2 separate regions of the Homo sapiens genome follow, and region 2 is linked to region 1. The links are contacts of gene promoters, found by promoter capture Hi-C in human tissues and cell types (Jung and others, 2019). All regions are on one chromosome and are shown on one strand. The core of a region is centred on a gene start or on the middle of the fragment in contact, and the rest is flanking DNA. Distances in the headings are between cores, read along the strand shown.

Region 1 (7,856 bases), core at 3,074-5,573:
TAGAGTAACTAGGATACACGAAATACCATGCACCAGCTCTGCACCAACCAAACTCAGAAACACAAGCACATTCTCAGGCCCCAGAGCAATTATGTGCCCAGGCCCTAGTGCATGGTTTTTTGTGGGGCTTTTAAGGGTTGTTTTGTTTGTTTGTTTGTTTGTTTGTTTGTTTTGCAGGGGTAGAAGGTGGAAGAAAAAAACCTTCTACACAGGTTCAAGGTGCAGAGAGAGATGTCATGGAGGGCCAGCGCTCAGCCGCAGTGCCTCAGGTATACCTGGCTCCATGCAGGTTCTCCAGCCACACTTCTGCTGCTGCTTGTGGGCCTCATCTCATCTGTGTTCCTCCTACATGTCATTATCAGTGAGCAGCTCACGGCAGCATAGCGGGAGGAATTTGTCTTGCTTAACCAGGGAAGGTTCAGTTGCGTTGGAAGAGGGGATGGCAAGGCATCTCCATGTCAGTCTCCTCCTCAAGGCTCAAAAGACACATGGGGCACTTGAGCTGTGCAGGAATCCCATGGCTAATGCCAGCATCATACTGTGGCAGAAACTAAGTGGTATCTGCAAGAAGAGAGAAAGCCTTGACTTCACAAGTGGGAGAAATCTCTCGTGGAGTGACTAATGTTGGCATTAAGTTTGCCTTCAGAGGGTGGGGTCATGTATACAGCCTCTTCTTTCAAAGTGGGGGCTTAGGATATTTCTATCATCTTATGATATTTAGAAGTTTAAGCTTGATTCAATCATACCACAATGTATACATATATCGAAACATCACATTGTACCCCTTAAATGTATACAACTATGATTTGTCAATTAAAAAATTAAAAATTTTTAGAAAACATAGAATCTCAGACGTGACTAGATCTATTTATTTCACGCATGAATTCCCTTTAGAGTGTATTTCATCTTCTCAGTAATTCTGTGGCATGCTTCCTCAGGACATGGGCAATAACAGCCCCCAAACCCCCATTAAAAAAAAAAAAAACCTGCATTCCTTTGAAACTTACCTAATAATGTTTCACCACTAAACTTCCTGTTCGTCTTCCCTCACTCTGTGCAAGTGACTGGGTCAACGCTCCCTCTAGCGGCCTCAAACTGTTTTGCATCGTTGTTAAATCTCTCCAGGCCCCATTCACCCTCCGTGATCTAGAAATAAATAAATATTCTGCTCTCTTCTAGTTCCATCCTTAAAACTATCTAGGCATAGAGCCATTTCCCTTCTCTTTTAATGTATCTCAAGCATGGGCTCTATGAACTCAAACTTTCTCCTGAGAAAATCTCATCTTTTCTCCCAACTCAATCAACAGAACTGCCCTCTTTTTTCTTTTCCCTTTCTGTCTGACTTGTCTCACTATAAGACCAAGACTTGTACCTTATATGAACCCCACGTTTCCCTGATTCTTAGGAAAATATGATTTCTAAAGAGTTTTCCAGGTACAGGACTTGTTCATTTCTCCCATACTCTTCAAGTTTATAGTAATTCCATGGAGTTTTTCTTCACTTTCACCCAGTGACATTTCCTCCACATAAAGGATCCCATTATTTTTATCTGTATGAAGTCGACCACACCTCTGTGGTTAATCCCACAGTGGGACTCTGAAATCTGAAACCCTGGCTGGAGCTTCATAAATGTACAACCCCAAGCCACTTTGAGACTACGTGGTAGGAAATAATCCCAGGAGCCTGTGATCAGGCCATAAACAAAATCCCTCCTGAGTCTTCCTGCCACCCTAAATGCAGTTCAAAACAAAGCACACATTGGGACCTGCATCTGTGGGTGAGAAAAAAGAACAAGAGAAACGTGTTAAATGAAAACTAGGAAAAAAGTGAACAACAACATAAAAGAAACCAAACTAGACAATCAGTTGGACAGCCAACCTAGCATCACCTACTAAATATTAACACACATCATCTGAAGCCAAAATTTCACAGCCTTATGCTCTGTACCCAAGTGGAATTGGGATAATTTCATTCCAGCCTCAGCTGCACCCACGCAGCTGCAGGTCAGAGTTACCTTTAGAGTGTTTGCTGTTAAAATCCACTGTATTTGGGTCCCCCAAGGCCAGTCTTTGACTTCACCATCACAGCTCCAGGGAGGGCCACCAGCACGTCATCCCTCTGCCCCTCTGAGTCTGGCCAATGGAGAAGGTGTCCAGAGAACAAGGAGCAAAAAGGAAACCAAAACATCGATTGTATTAACAGCCAGACAAGTGCCGGGGAACCCACAGCACTCTGACCTCTCTGGCAAGGCTGAGCTGGAGAATGCTATCGAGACACAAGCCCAAAAGGGGCCTTCTCTCTGTCCTGCCTGAGCCACTAAACGGTGAGAGAAACAGCATGCATCCCCCAGGGAAGAGGTGGGAAGGTGAAGTCCTGTCCAAGTGTGCACCCTCATGAGAGAGGGCAGGAGGGAAAGAGGCAAAGCTGTTGAGGAACATTCCTGTTGATGCATTAACTCCGCCCCCTGGTGAAACGTGGTGTAATAAATGTTCTGTCTCACCAGCTGTCATAGCATCTCACCCTGTGGGAAGGAGCAGTCACCCAGAAGAGAGCCTTTCATCTTGTATTAGTTTTCTAATTACAAATTACCACAAATTTACCAGCTTAAAACAACACAAATTAATTATTTTACAGTTCTGTAGTTCAGGAGTTCCAGATGGGTCTCACTGGGCTAAAATCAAGGCATGTCAGCAGGCAGGGCTGCGTTCCTTTCTGGAGTCTCTAGGGGAGAATTCATTTCCTTGCCCTTTCCAGCTTCTAAAGGCTGTCCACAGTCTTTGGCCCATGGCCCCATTCCTCCATTTTCAAAGCCAGCCCCATCCGGCCAAGGCTTCTCACCCTGCCATCAGTCTAGTTATCTCTTTGGAATCCTTTGTCCACATTTAGGGATGCTTGAGATTATACCAGGCCCACCCAGATAATCTAGGAGAATTTCCCTATTTTAAGACCAGCTGATTAGCAACCTCAGTTCAATCTGCAACCTTAATTCTCTGTTGCCAGTGTAACCCAACACACTTACAGGTTCTGTGATTTCCGACGTGGACCTCTTTGTGGGGCCATTAGTTATTCTGCTCCCACACATCTCCCATGGGATTAGCCACCACTCACATCCCCCCTTAAGCCATAGGAATCAGTCACCAAAGGCCTTGAAACCATTCAGGTAGGCACCAAGGTCTATTCCTTGTCCTGATTCCTCTTGTAGAAAGGTGGGCAACCAAGATCCTTGGGTTCTGTCTCTCTGTTGACCACAGTCACTTCCAGGACCAAGCCAAAGCTTTCAGATATATTTGTCATCCAGAACCCCTACCCTGTTTGGCTCTGTCAGCCCCAAATCTAGCCCAATTCTCTCTGCCCAGTCTCTCTCTGCCAAACCCTTTTACTATGCCCTCTAGAACTCCTGATCAGTGGTCAGTAAATTCCTTGGTATTCCCAATGTCTTGTTTTGAATTTTCTCTCTATTGCTTAATCTCCCTTTTTTTTCTTTCTTCTCCCAACTTTCAACTGATACCCGTTTTTTCTTCTTTCTTCTCCCATCTTTCAACTGATATTGCCTAATCTAAAATAACATTTTAAGGCCAGGTGTGGTGGCTCATGCCTGTAATTCTAGAGCTTTGGGAGGCCAAGGTGGGAGGAACGCTTGAGGCTAGGTTTTCAAGACCAGACTAGGCAACATAGCAAGACCCTGTCTCTAAAATAAAAACAATTAGCTGGGCATGGTGGCACGTGCCTGTAGCCCCAGCTACTTCAGAGGCTGAGGTGGGAGGATCACTTAAGCCCAGGAGTTCAAGGCTGCAGTGAGCTACAATCATGCCACTGTACTCCAGCCTGGGTGAGAGAGTAAGAACCTGTCCTTTAAAAAATAATAATAATAATAATTTCAGATTTTCTGAGACTCTGACAACCTCTATTTCACTCTCAAGTGGAAACTGCTTTCTCCTTTAGCCACCAACCGCCTCAGAATCCGAAGGTGGGAAGAAGGATTTTCCTCCTTGTTCTCCACTGCCACTTCTAAACCATTCCTCTTCCGTTCTACTCCAAAATCTCCCCTTCTTTGAAGCTCAGAATACATGCTGCGCCCTCCTACCAACCCCTCTCCCTTACAGGGAGCCCCTAACCTCAGCACCTGGTCTTCCTCTTCCCACTTGCTCCTGTCCTTTTTTGAGGACTGTCAGTGTTCATGCCGATGACCCCCCAACACTCTGACTTCTCAGTTCTTAACCTTTGTACCTCAGCCTACGCGCCACCACAGCCACTTCCAAAATCCTAAATTCAAGAATCCCACGTCTGGCCACAATTTCCTGCCCTTCCATCTCCATTACAGTAGAAGTCCAGTTGTAACAATTCTTTGACCTGATCCAGACCTCCGATTCACTGACCCTGCCATTTTTTCCATGTAGCTAATAACTTCATTTCCCAAGCTTCCTTACAGACAGATGTGGCCAAGTGACTAGGTTTTGGACAGGAGGATATGAACAAATACAATAAGGGCAAATGACAGGTGGTGCCCTTGACAGAAAGAGTGTGTCCTCCCTTTCTCCTTTCTAAATCCTTCACGCTGACTGGAATGAGATAAAGGCATGGGAGCTAGAGCAGCCCTCTTAGGCCACTAAATGGAAGCTACATATTGAAAAGAAAGGGTAACGAGATAGAATGTCCAGAATATTGTGGAGCCACCATATTATCTCTGTTTAACTTCTGTTCTGTTGAAGCCATGCCATTACAATCTTGTTACTACCCCTGGACTAATGCCTTAATAGACCTCTTCATCTCATCTTCCTGTCTCGTTAAGTATCACCCCCATATACTCAATTAGTCAAACCAAAAACCTAAGAGTCAATCTTGATTTCTGCCTTTCCCTCAATCCCCACAATTAATTCACCAACAAGCCTACAGATTCTATCTCTGAAATATATCCTGACTTCACCCCTCTCTCCCCATCTCTCTGCCACCACCCTGTTTCCACTTCCACTGTTGACCACCTGAACCTCTGCAATGGCTTTCTGAGTAAGCTCTCTGCCTCCACTCTAAGCCCATACAATCCAGGCTCCGTCAGTAACTAGACAAGTGGTCTTTTCAAAGTATATATCAGATCAGGTCTGCTCCTTAAAATTATCAGGTGGTTCCCATTACACTTCAAATAAAATCCAAACTCTCTAGCAGGGTCTACAAGGCCCTGTGTGGTCTGGCTTCCAAATATCCCCCCAACCTCATCTCATTCCGCTCTCCTGCCCAATACAGCGTGACCATGCTGGCGCCCTTCACGGTCCTTGGACACACCAGCCTCTTTCCCAGTTTCATCCTTGTTCACTCTGCTTAGAATCCTCTTCCTCTTGCTGTCTGCATAGCTGACTCCCTCTCACCCTTCAGGTCTTGGTTCAAATGTCATCTTATCAGAGAGCTTCCCTGGCCACTCCCACCCATCCTCCCCCCAGTTACTTCTGTCACCTCGCCTTGTTTATTCCCCTCATTGCATTTCCTATGCTCTGAAATGTTCCTACTTTTACATTTATTCACTTGTTTATATACTTTTTTACCTCACAAAAATGTAAGCTCCATGAAACCTGGGAACGTATCAATCATTATTATTCACTATTTTCTCTCCAGTACCTTGAACAGTAATTACTGGGCAAAGAGTTGAAGTTCGATGAATGAATTTGAATTGAATTCATGAGTGAATTGAATAAACAAATGAATGAATGATCAGTAAAATTAGCTACTTTTTTTTTCCTAGAAAAGAGCAAGTAAGGAACAGCGAGAGGCTAGAAGGGTTCACTCTGACACCCACCCCCGTGTGAGGTAGGGAGCAAAGTCCTCCCCTCTAATGGAAATGGGCACAGGGATGGGGCAGCCGATAAGGGTCACCTTTTCCCAGAGTGGTTAGAAGAAAAGGATGCTGGGAGGGGCTGAGAAGCCTTCTTGCTCAAAAGCCCAGTGCTCTCCCCGCTCACCTCTACAGGATTCCTGAAGAAGTGAGGAGAAGATCACCTGCCCACAGAACCTAACCCAGCATCAGAGGAAGCCTGAAGTGAGGAAGCCTGAAGTGAAGAAGCCTGAAGTAAAGAAGCCTGAAGCTATAGCGCAGAAAGGCCTTCTCAACACATGTTCAGGTAGGGGGACTCCAAAATGGGGACTTTCTTTTATAGGGGGTGGGAAAGGGTCTTATCAAAAAAACAATGTCCCCCTTCACTCCCAAACTTCCTACACAGAATATGGAGTTCCTTCACAGGGGGGTAGGAAGAGGGTCAGGACAGCCTCCATAGAGCCCTCCGCAAGTCCTCCCTTACCCAAGGAGACAGAACAGTTGAGGCCTCAGATTATAAGGCTCTAGATTAGCAAAGCACTTATTCTTTCTCCTGTTAGCTCCTTCTCTCCTGTCCCAGGGGCCCTTTTCCTTCAAGTGGAATCACAGAATCTTTCACTTATAGACTGATGCATAATTTCAGAACAACCCAGGATTCTGAAGCATTGATTTGGAAAGAGCCCCCAGACAGTTTTTGCCTGGATCCCTCCATCAGCAGAGAACTCCTTCTGCATAAGGTAGCTTCCTCCAGGCCCTGGTGGCTTAGATGGGGCCTTCTGCCTCCCTGCCAGTCAAACTTGTCTCCCTCTAACTTGTTCAGCCTGGTGGAGCAGCACAGGTACGTGGGTTCTTATTTCCACATGACAACCCTTAAAACATCTAAAGACAATCATTTTAATAATAAATAATACCATTTAATGAGAACTAACAAGGAAGTGTGCTAAGAGTTTTGTGTATATTATCCCATTCAATACTTGAAACATCTCTAAGATGTAGGAATTATTATTATTCCTATTTCTTCGATAAGGAAATAAGATCAGAGAAGTAAAGCAACCAGCCCAAGGTCACTGGAGTATTGGAAGAATCAGGATTTGTTCCAAGGCCGGACTGACTCCATCCAAAGCCCATGCTCTCACTCCCTCTATTATGCCAAGCTCACCCACCCGGCTACACAACATCGAATCTTCTTTTCTCCCAGCTAAACAACATCGAATCCTTCAAGTGTTGCTTCTCTGAAGAGTTCAAGACTCCCATCCCCCTCCATTTCTTCCAATAACCTCTAAGTTCAATAGAATCCTTGCAGCCCCAGAGCCTCAGACCCTCTTTCTGGAAACTGGGAGAGGAAAAGGAAGCTCTTCTTCTGCTAAGGTGTCTCCCCAAGGGTCCCCCAAGACCCCAGTCTCCCCTTAGTCTCCAAACACTGCCGTAGCCACCACTCTTTGCTACCCTCTCTCCGCCTCCCTTGCTAATTTCACCTCCCTTGTCCACCAGAATTCTGTCAATCTGCTTCCCCCTTATTCTCACATTATTCTTCCTGTAAGTCCTACTCAACTTTAAATTAAAAAAAAAAAAAGCCTAACTCCAATTCGCCCTCCTCTGCAAGCCTTCTCTGGTTCCTTCAGGCTGCCCCTTCCTCAATGCTCCCAAAGTCCTTATTTCTGCCTCTACAACAGCAGTTACTATTTTGCAGCTCTCAGTGTCTGTTCACAAGTCTCCCTCACCAGCTTGGCTTCTCCAGGGCAGAGAGTATGGCTTTGATCTCTGCACTCATTGCAACACAGGTGCTTAGTACACGGCTGTTAGCATCCAATGCAGACTGATTCATTTTTGATACTTCAAAAAGGAAGAATGGTGGTTAGACTGCAGAGAGCCAGGAAGTGGGGCTAATGCCAGGGAACTGATTGAGATGCCATGAGAGCTGAGCCCCAGCACCTGGGGGACATGTGGCGTCTGGAGATTGAATGAAATAATCTAGCACCAATGAGTCCAAGGAGGGAAGCAGGGTTTTAAGCAGGATCTGCTGCCCTCTGCTGGCCATTCCACCTCTGGGATGGAA
Region 2 (7,856 bases), core at 2,587-5,086, 48 kb before region 1:
TTACATCAGTAGATGCATTTGACAAGACGAAAAAATACAGTTAATATGTATGTTTCATTGTATAGTTTCATTGTATGTAAGTTTTACCTCAAAGAAAAAAACTACAAACAAATATTAAATAGTTTCTTAAAAAGCAGCTTGGCATATCTCTTTCCAACAGATTAATGTTATTAGTCTAATCTAAGCTTTATCCACCAGTCCACATCTCTTGCCCAAATTCTGAAGGTTTCTAGCCCCACTCACTTGTAGGTTTCTAGCTGCACTTCACCAAAAGTTACTGCATTCTAACTGTGTGTCTGGCATCCTCACTGGGGCTGGGGTGCACAGACAAATTAAACATGGTCCTGCACTGCACAGCTGAAGTCTAGTGTGGAAAACCAAGCACTAAACAGACAATCCCAATACCATCGAGGTGATGCACAGATAAAGAGAAGAGCAAGGGGCTGGTGGAAGTGCATAGCCCAGAACTCTGACTTCACTTTGGTGGGGAGAGGAAGGAAGACAAGAAGAATGCCCAGAAAATCTTCCAGGGGCTGGGCCCACTGGCTCAAGCCTGTAACTGCAGCACTTTGGGAGCCGAGGTGAGCGGATCACGAGGTCAAGACATCGAGACCATCAAGACCATCCTGGCCAACATGGTGAAACCCCATCTCTACTAAAACTACAAAAATTAGCCAGGGGTGGTGGTGGGTGCCTGTAGTCCCAGCTACTTGAGAGGCTGAGGCAGGAGAATCGCTTGAACCTGGGAGGCGGAGGTTGCAATGAGCTGAGATTGCACCACTGCACTCCAGCCTGGTGACAGAGCGTGACTCCGTCTCAAGAAAAAAGAAAAGAAAAAAAGAAAATCTTCCAGGAAGAAGGTATTTCTGATCTGAATCTTAAAGGATGAGTAGGAAAAAGCTCTGTCATCTAATCGTAGGAGGGCATTAAAGACAATACACGGAGGAAAATACGTGAAGAGGCAGAAGCAAGAAAAAATTAAATCTATGCAAGAAACTGAAAGAAATTTAATGTGACTGAGGCAGAGTCTTGATGAGGGAATGAGAAGGGTTGAAACTGAAGGGACGGACAGAAGCCAGCTCATGAAAGATGGTGTGTGCTCTGCACATAGTTTGTCTACTATAAATCACTTAGACAGCTGGGAGTTTGAACTTGAGACTGTCAGAGGGAAAACCATTTGTGAAGCTGTTTCTTCAGTGAACATAAAAAATGGCAAGGCCCCCAGGCAGAGGCTTCTGAGCCAGAGCCCTGGGATTGACAAAGAGGCAGAACTTCATAGACCCCGGTGTCCTTGTACATAGGGGGCCAAGAGGAGGAAAAATGTAAAATTACTCTCAGATCTCTATTTAGATAACTGGGTGAATGTCAATACTGTTAATCAGAATGGAAAATGGTGCAGGAGGAGGAGCAGGTGATGGGGAAGATGTGGGGAACGTAGGTGAGGCCAGTTGCAACCCCTAGGGTTCATCAGTGCATTACTGCCCATCCATTAGTGGATATTAGTGTTCAGGAGAGAGGTCTGGGCCGGAATGAAGATGTGGGAGCCAGGAAGTGTGACTCCAAGAATGAGTCACACAGGAGAGTTTGTAAGAGGAGAGAAGAAAAAGGCTAAGAATAGAACACTGGAGAATATCAAAGGGGCAGGCAAGGTGAGTCAAAGTGGGACTGAAGGGTGGCCCAAAAAAGGAGAGAAAGAAAGAAAACCCCAGCACCTCAAAAGATGAGTGGCTCTAACAGTGTCAGAGCCCACCGAGATCAGATAAGATAAAGGCTGAAAAGTGGCGACTGTATCCGAGTACCTTGGCAAGGATGTATCTCGGTTCCAGGGATGGTGGTGCAAACATTACAGGGTGATAAGAACATAAAGCAAAACACGGATGTTGAGGCCAAAAAAAAAATGGAGTTGTTTTCAAAAAGCTTGGTTGCAGAAGGATTGGAAAGAAGCTAGATAGGGAGAGTATAAAGGGAACATTTTGCTTATTTTTAAGATGTCTGTATGTTGAAGGAAAAAAGCCAAGAAAGTCTCACAATGAACCACACAACAGGAGAGATGGTGAGAGCTCAGATGGACTGAGTTCCCATGGAGGTGAGAGGTAGACATCCAGAGAACAGGGAAGAGCCCCAGAAAGTTGACCCAGAAAGTGGATCTGAGCTATTCCTGTTCGAATTTCACAAGTACCCTGGGTCACACTGTGGAGATGAGAGTCAGAGAGATTATGTGACATGCCAAAATCATTCAGCCTCTAAGTGGTGGAGCACAACTTTGCTTCAATCCCATAGGCTAGGAAGAGCATGCTTTGTCTACCAGGACAGAGTCCCCTGCTACCATCAATTGTCCCTTCATCTGTCTGAGATCCTTGCCTACTGTGTATCCCCTCAAGGCAAGACCACAGTCTACTCATCTTTATCTGTCTGGGTCCAACACGGTGTCTGGCACAGACAGAGCACCTCAGGAAACAAATCTCAGTCCATTTTCACCAAGGTCCCAGGAACAGGGCAAGGGCAGGCTCCACTCCGTGGAGAGAAGACATCTCAAGGAAGTAACTGGCTTTGTGAGGAGCAGAAACTAAGGTTCCAAGTTATCCTCAGCTCCCCAGCTTGGGTCTGGAATAGATGGAGGAGGGAGCTGACCAGTTTTGACACATGTATTCCTCACACGAAACCTGTAGGATTAAAATGATCATTTCTCACCATCAAATGCAAAACAGCTGAAGTGGAACACAAGAGCTGGAGTCAATAATACTGTATTGAATTTGGGATTTTTGCTGGAAGAGCAGATTTTGGGTGCTCTTACACATACACACACACACACACACACACATACAGAGAGACACACACACAAAAGGCTAATTATGTAAAATCATGGATGTGTTCATTTGCTTGATTATAGTAACCATTTCACTAAATACATGTATATCAAAACTTCATGTTACACCTTAAATATTACCATAAAATAAAAGAAGAAAGAAAAACAATTGAAGTGGGGCAGGTAAATTGCCTCTCTGAAGGCCACACAGCTAGTAAACAACAAAATCGAGTCATAAACCCACATCTCCAGGACTTTCTGCCATTTCGAAGAAAACACAAGTCCGCAGGAAGGGATTCTGAGGCAGAGAGAAGCACCTTTGGATTCTCCACTTCTCTGGATTATCCACACCACTGGCCTCCCTCCCCTATATGAAGGGCAAACTGGGAACTGACTTCATATTCTGGTTAACTTACCAGGAGAATTTTCTGGGGTAGAGGATCATTAGCTGGGACTGAAGACACCCTGGTCAGGGCCTACTGAGGCTGGGAAGCTCTGGTTACCACATGGAGACCCCTAGAGAGGACATCAGCCTCTCTGGACCTTAGTCAGGTGGGATCCCCAAATGCTGTGAGGGCAGCCCCCTAGGGTGGGCTTAACCCACTCAAGGGAAGCCTCAGCCACCCCCACTCTCTCCTAAGGAGGCTGGATCTGACATCTTGGGCCCCCCTTCTGTTTCCAGGTGGAAGGAGAGCCTTCTGGGCACAGCCCTCCTGCCAGGGCCCTCTCCAGAAACCTCTCACAGTCTTCCCCAGGACCCCAGATGCAATCAGAGATGGGAGCCCAGGGACAAGCGAGATGGGAAGGGGAGAGGCAGGAAAAGGATGCCAGTCAGGACAGTGCCAACTCCAGAGCTGCTGTCCAGGACCTACCTGCAGGGAAGGCGGGCACCAGCCAGCCCCAGCCAGCCTTTGTTGACTTAACAGGTGGCTCTGAGGTGGGAGAAGAGGAGGAGGAGAACACACCACTGGAAGACTGGTTCCCATTGGTCCCTGTCATGCTTAAAAAAAGGCCCAGAGAGGCAGTCTTGACACCCTAGATCCCAAGATCTCCAAGGATTTGGTGGCATACCCACTCCAGCACACAGAAGCATGAGGTTCATGACTCTCCTCTTCCTGACAGCTCTGGCAGGAGCCCTGGTCTGTGCCTGTGAGTATGGCTCTTCCCCGACACCCAACCATATAGTCCCCTGAAGACTGGGCCCTGCCTTCATTTCCCCTTCCCCTCCTCGCCAGAGGCAGTTCACCCAAGTCTGTCTCTGTAGCCCACTCCTGCCTCCCACTAGGTTCTCCACACAGGGACTCTATGGTCAGAGGAAGCCAGGAGCCCTGTGGCCCCAGCCTGGCTCTCCATTGCCTCTCCTCTCAGTCTGTGATTGGCCCACTCTGCTCCAACCACTCTGGCATTCTTTTTCCCCTCAATGAACCAAGCCATTTCCCACTGCCAAGACTTTTGCACATCCTCTTGTCTTTTCCCCTGCCCATTATTTCACCCACCCACGTCAACCTCCTTCCTACTCAATTTCCAAGTGTCCGCCCTGCTAGCTCTCTGTGTCCATGTATTTCCTCACAGCAGGCTTGCTGAAGCCCCAGAATCATTTTGGCCCCTATTTTGCATTTTCTTGCCTCCTGTATTTTTCCTTCCTAGCACTATCACAAATGTAATTAAATAATTGTTTATGTAATTATGTTAATTCCTCCAAATCCCCCATTGACTGTCAGCTTCCCCGAGCAATTACACTGTCTGTCTTCCTCACAGCTGTATCTCTAGCCTCTAACACCATGTCTGGTGCATAATGCGTGCTTCATTCATGCTTTTGGAAGAATAAAGAAATGGAGGGAAGGTCCTTCTGAGGTCATTCTATCAGGTGACAATCAGAACAACTCCTGCCCTGTCACTAGAGCAGGTGCTGTGGTCATGCCCTCGTGGTCATGCCCCTTCAACTTTCATTATGAAACTTGGACATCTAAGACATAGAAGAGAGTCAGAGAATGATTCCATTTCCATAGGGATGTTCTGAGTAGCCTAGGTCTAGGGAGGATAACAGAGAGAGGGATTTGGTTGAGATACCAAAAAGCATTTCTAGTGGGCCCCTTGTGAAGCAGAGATTTCTCTCCTGTCTGTCCACTGCCACACTCCTGAGATTAGAGGCCTGGGAATTCTAGGCAGCCCTGGCTGGATACAGCTCATGCAACTGTGCCCTACTTGACATGGTCACTGTTCCCTCCTTTGCAGATGATCCAGAGGCCGCCTCTGCCCCAGGATCGGGGAACCGTGAGTCCTTTCTCTTCCTCCTGCCCCAGTCCTGGGTGGGAGGGTTAATGACTTGGGATATGAGTGGAGGAAGTCAGAGAAGCAGAAGGGGGGTCCGGGGAAGGAGAGTTGGGAGGCCGACTTTTAGGAGACATGGAGAAGGGAGACTTCCTGAGAGACTCATGCACTGGAGAAGGACAGAGCATGGGGGAAAGGGTGGCCCTGTCTGGAAGTAGAAGTGGAGTAAGAAAAATGGGAAAGAAAAGAATACTTTTCTTGAGCAAGAGGAGGAACTTCACATTAGATGGGTTCAGAGGTTTTCATCTGCCCCACCTTCACCAACAATTTCAATTCAAAAACCTTTCACGTGGTTTCCCATTTCTCATCACGAAACTCTCACCTCCTAGCCTGACATTCAGGGTATCCATGATCTAGATCCAGGGTACTTTTCAAATATAATTTCCCTAGACTCCACTGCTTGCATTCTCCACATCAAACGTTATACATTTGTTTCATCAGACAGCATGAGTAACTTTCTACTACCCAACGTTCCTCTTCCTGGGTACCTTTTCAACCCCTACCTGTCCGTGCTCTAACAAGCTTCAAGTCCCAGCTGCTCTCTGAAGCCCTCCCTGCCTGGTGTGTATGGTGCCTCTGTCCCAGTCTCTCCTTTCATCCCTCCCTCTTCTGGGCTTCCCATATATAGCAGTTTTGTCTCTTTTCCTAGACTGTAAGCCCCTGAGAGAGAGATCTAATTCTCATTCATTTCTACTTCCCCAGCCATGTACACACTCTGGATAATTAACGGCAGAAAGATAAACTGTATTTCTGCACATCTTCACTGCACTGCGAGCCCCAACCACAGCACACACCTGCACCCTCCCTGCCTTCTCACATAAAGCCCAGAGGGAACACCGGGCACCTTGGTGTCTTCTCAGATGCCCCTGGAGCGTTTCACACCAATGCAATAACAGAAGTTTTGATTTTCCAGATAAACAAATGGATTGTTTACAGCTACAGAAGCCCCCTTCAGAGACTGCCAAATTTCTGTCCTCATCCACCAACCTGCCTAGAAGAGAGAAGCTAGTGCCCTCTGCAAAACCTCCCCACACTAGGGGGCTGGTATAAGGGATGAAAACTAGGGGGAGTCTCTTTAAGGTGATCTTTCTGCCAAAATGACTTTACTTTTCCCTGAACCATAATCTACTCTAGAAAAGGGCCCTGGAGGAGCAGGAAAAGTCTTGGAGGCAGCAGGAAAAAGCTTGAGGGATGCTAAAGAACCTAACACATCATGAAAGTCAAGCTCTAGAGGAATTGGGAGAGAGGGAGCTATCCTCAAGCCAGACCTTGAGGGGGTAAAAGCACCACCTGCTCCCCGACCAGGGTGGAAAGAGTGAAATAGCTATTATTCCTCTCACTCCCTTACCCTTGCAGCTTGCCATGAAGCATCAGCAGCTCAAAAGGAAAATGCAGGTGAAGACCCAGGGTTAGCCAGACAGGCACCAAAGCCAAGGAAGCAGAGATCCAGCCTTCTGGGTAAGCCTCTTTCCCAATGCCTGGTATAGAATTCTGATGCATGAAACAGCAAGATATCTGGGGGCCAGTCTGCCCTCACAGGCACAAGCACAGGGACACAGCTACACCCATATTCCTAGGGAGGGCTTGGGGTGCACACCTGCTTCTACATACAGGGTTTCTGGGCCATAGGTTTTGCAGCTAATACTGGCCTACCAACCTTCCCATGACAGAGAAGTTGGTTCCTTCAGCAAAACCACTTCACCTTAGGGGTGCCCATGGTGCCTAGGAAGCGGGGGAGCTCTCCTACAAAGGAAGTAGTTTTTCTGCTTCTATGACCTCTTCTTTTCTGAATCCACCCTAGAAAAAGGCCTAGACGGAGCAAAAAAAGCTGTGGGGGGACTCGGAAAACTAGGAAAAGATGCAGTCGAAGATCTAGAAAGCGTGGGTAAAGGTGAGTATATGTCCCCACTCCTCCCTCAGGACCAGCCTCAGTCTCCACCCCTTGCATGAGATCTGAAACTGCCACAGCCCCCCCATTGAAGACCCCTCACTTTGTGCTTTCAAATGTCTCCAATTCCTCATCCAGATTTAAATTGCCATTCTTGTCTGATATTGATACTTCCTGGGGTCTAACTTGCTTTTTTTTTTATTGCTCTTGCCCCCTGCCCCTGCCAAGGTGGGGAAGAGAGGTTGGTCTTTGGGGCTCCTGTGAATCTAACCTCCATCCCTCTGACTTCTGTGTAAGCACCTCCAGGCCTCCCTTCCCCTTCCCCTTCCCCTACCTCTCCTTCCCCAATTCCCTGGCTCTCTTTCCCTTCCTTTTTTCTTCCTACCCCTTTACCCCATTTTTTTCTGTGGCTGTCCTAGGAGCCGTCCATGACGTTAAAGACGTCCTTGACTCAGTACTATAGCTGTAAGGAGAAGCTGAGAAATGATACCCAGGAGCAGCAGGCTTTACGTCTTCAGCCTAAAACCTAAAAAAAAAAAAAAAAAAAAAAATTTAAAACAGCTATTAAACTGAAAGCATCTGTAATACTTGGAGTATGTGTGTGTTTTCCTTAAGAAGAGATGGGGTATGAAACCTGGCCAGGAGCCCAAAAGGTTGGAAGAGCACTCCATGAGGCTTCAATTGGCACCCTGGCCCTTCCTCCCGAAACACAGCTTCCAGACCCAGCCTTCCCAGAGAGCACAGCTCCAGCAAGTTCTTTGATTCATGCCCAGCCCCTCACCCATATCTGCAGGGTCTAAGCCTCAAGTCCCAAACTGGTTGCCTCCTTAT

Evidence for each region. Contacts are between HindIII fragments. The study calls those that stand out against the background at their distance.
Region 2: a contact is called between the fragment with the promoter of DCD here and a fragment that was not itself captured in region 1, in 1 of the 25 tissues and cell types used here (hippocampus).

What each region holds. Positions count from the first base shown.
Region 1 is chr12:54,596,603-54,604,458 of GRCh38, reverse strand. No RefSeq gene overlaps it. Among named protein-coding and RNA genes, the nearest start is that of PPP1R1A, 12 kb to the right of the region's middle. The HindIII fragment of the contact is 4,642 bases long and covers 2,003-6,644 here.
Region 2 is chr12:54,644,345-54,652,200 of GRCh38, reverse strand. DCD (dermcidin) reads left to right here and starts at 3,836. Exons shown (of 5, transcript NM_053283.4): 1 at 3,836-3,955; 2 at 5,042-5,080; 3 at 6,494-6,595; 4 at 6,939-7,028; 5 at 7,445-7,612. The coding sequence starts at 3,898. The coding sequence ends at 7,488. The HindIII fragment of the contact is 4,939 bases long and covers 1,052-5,990 here.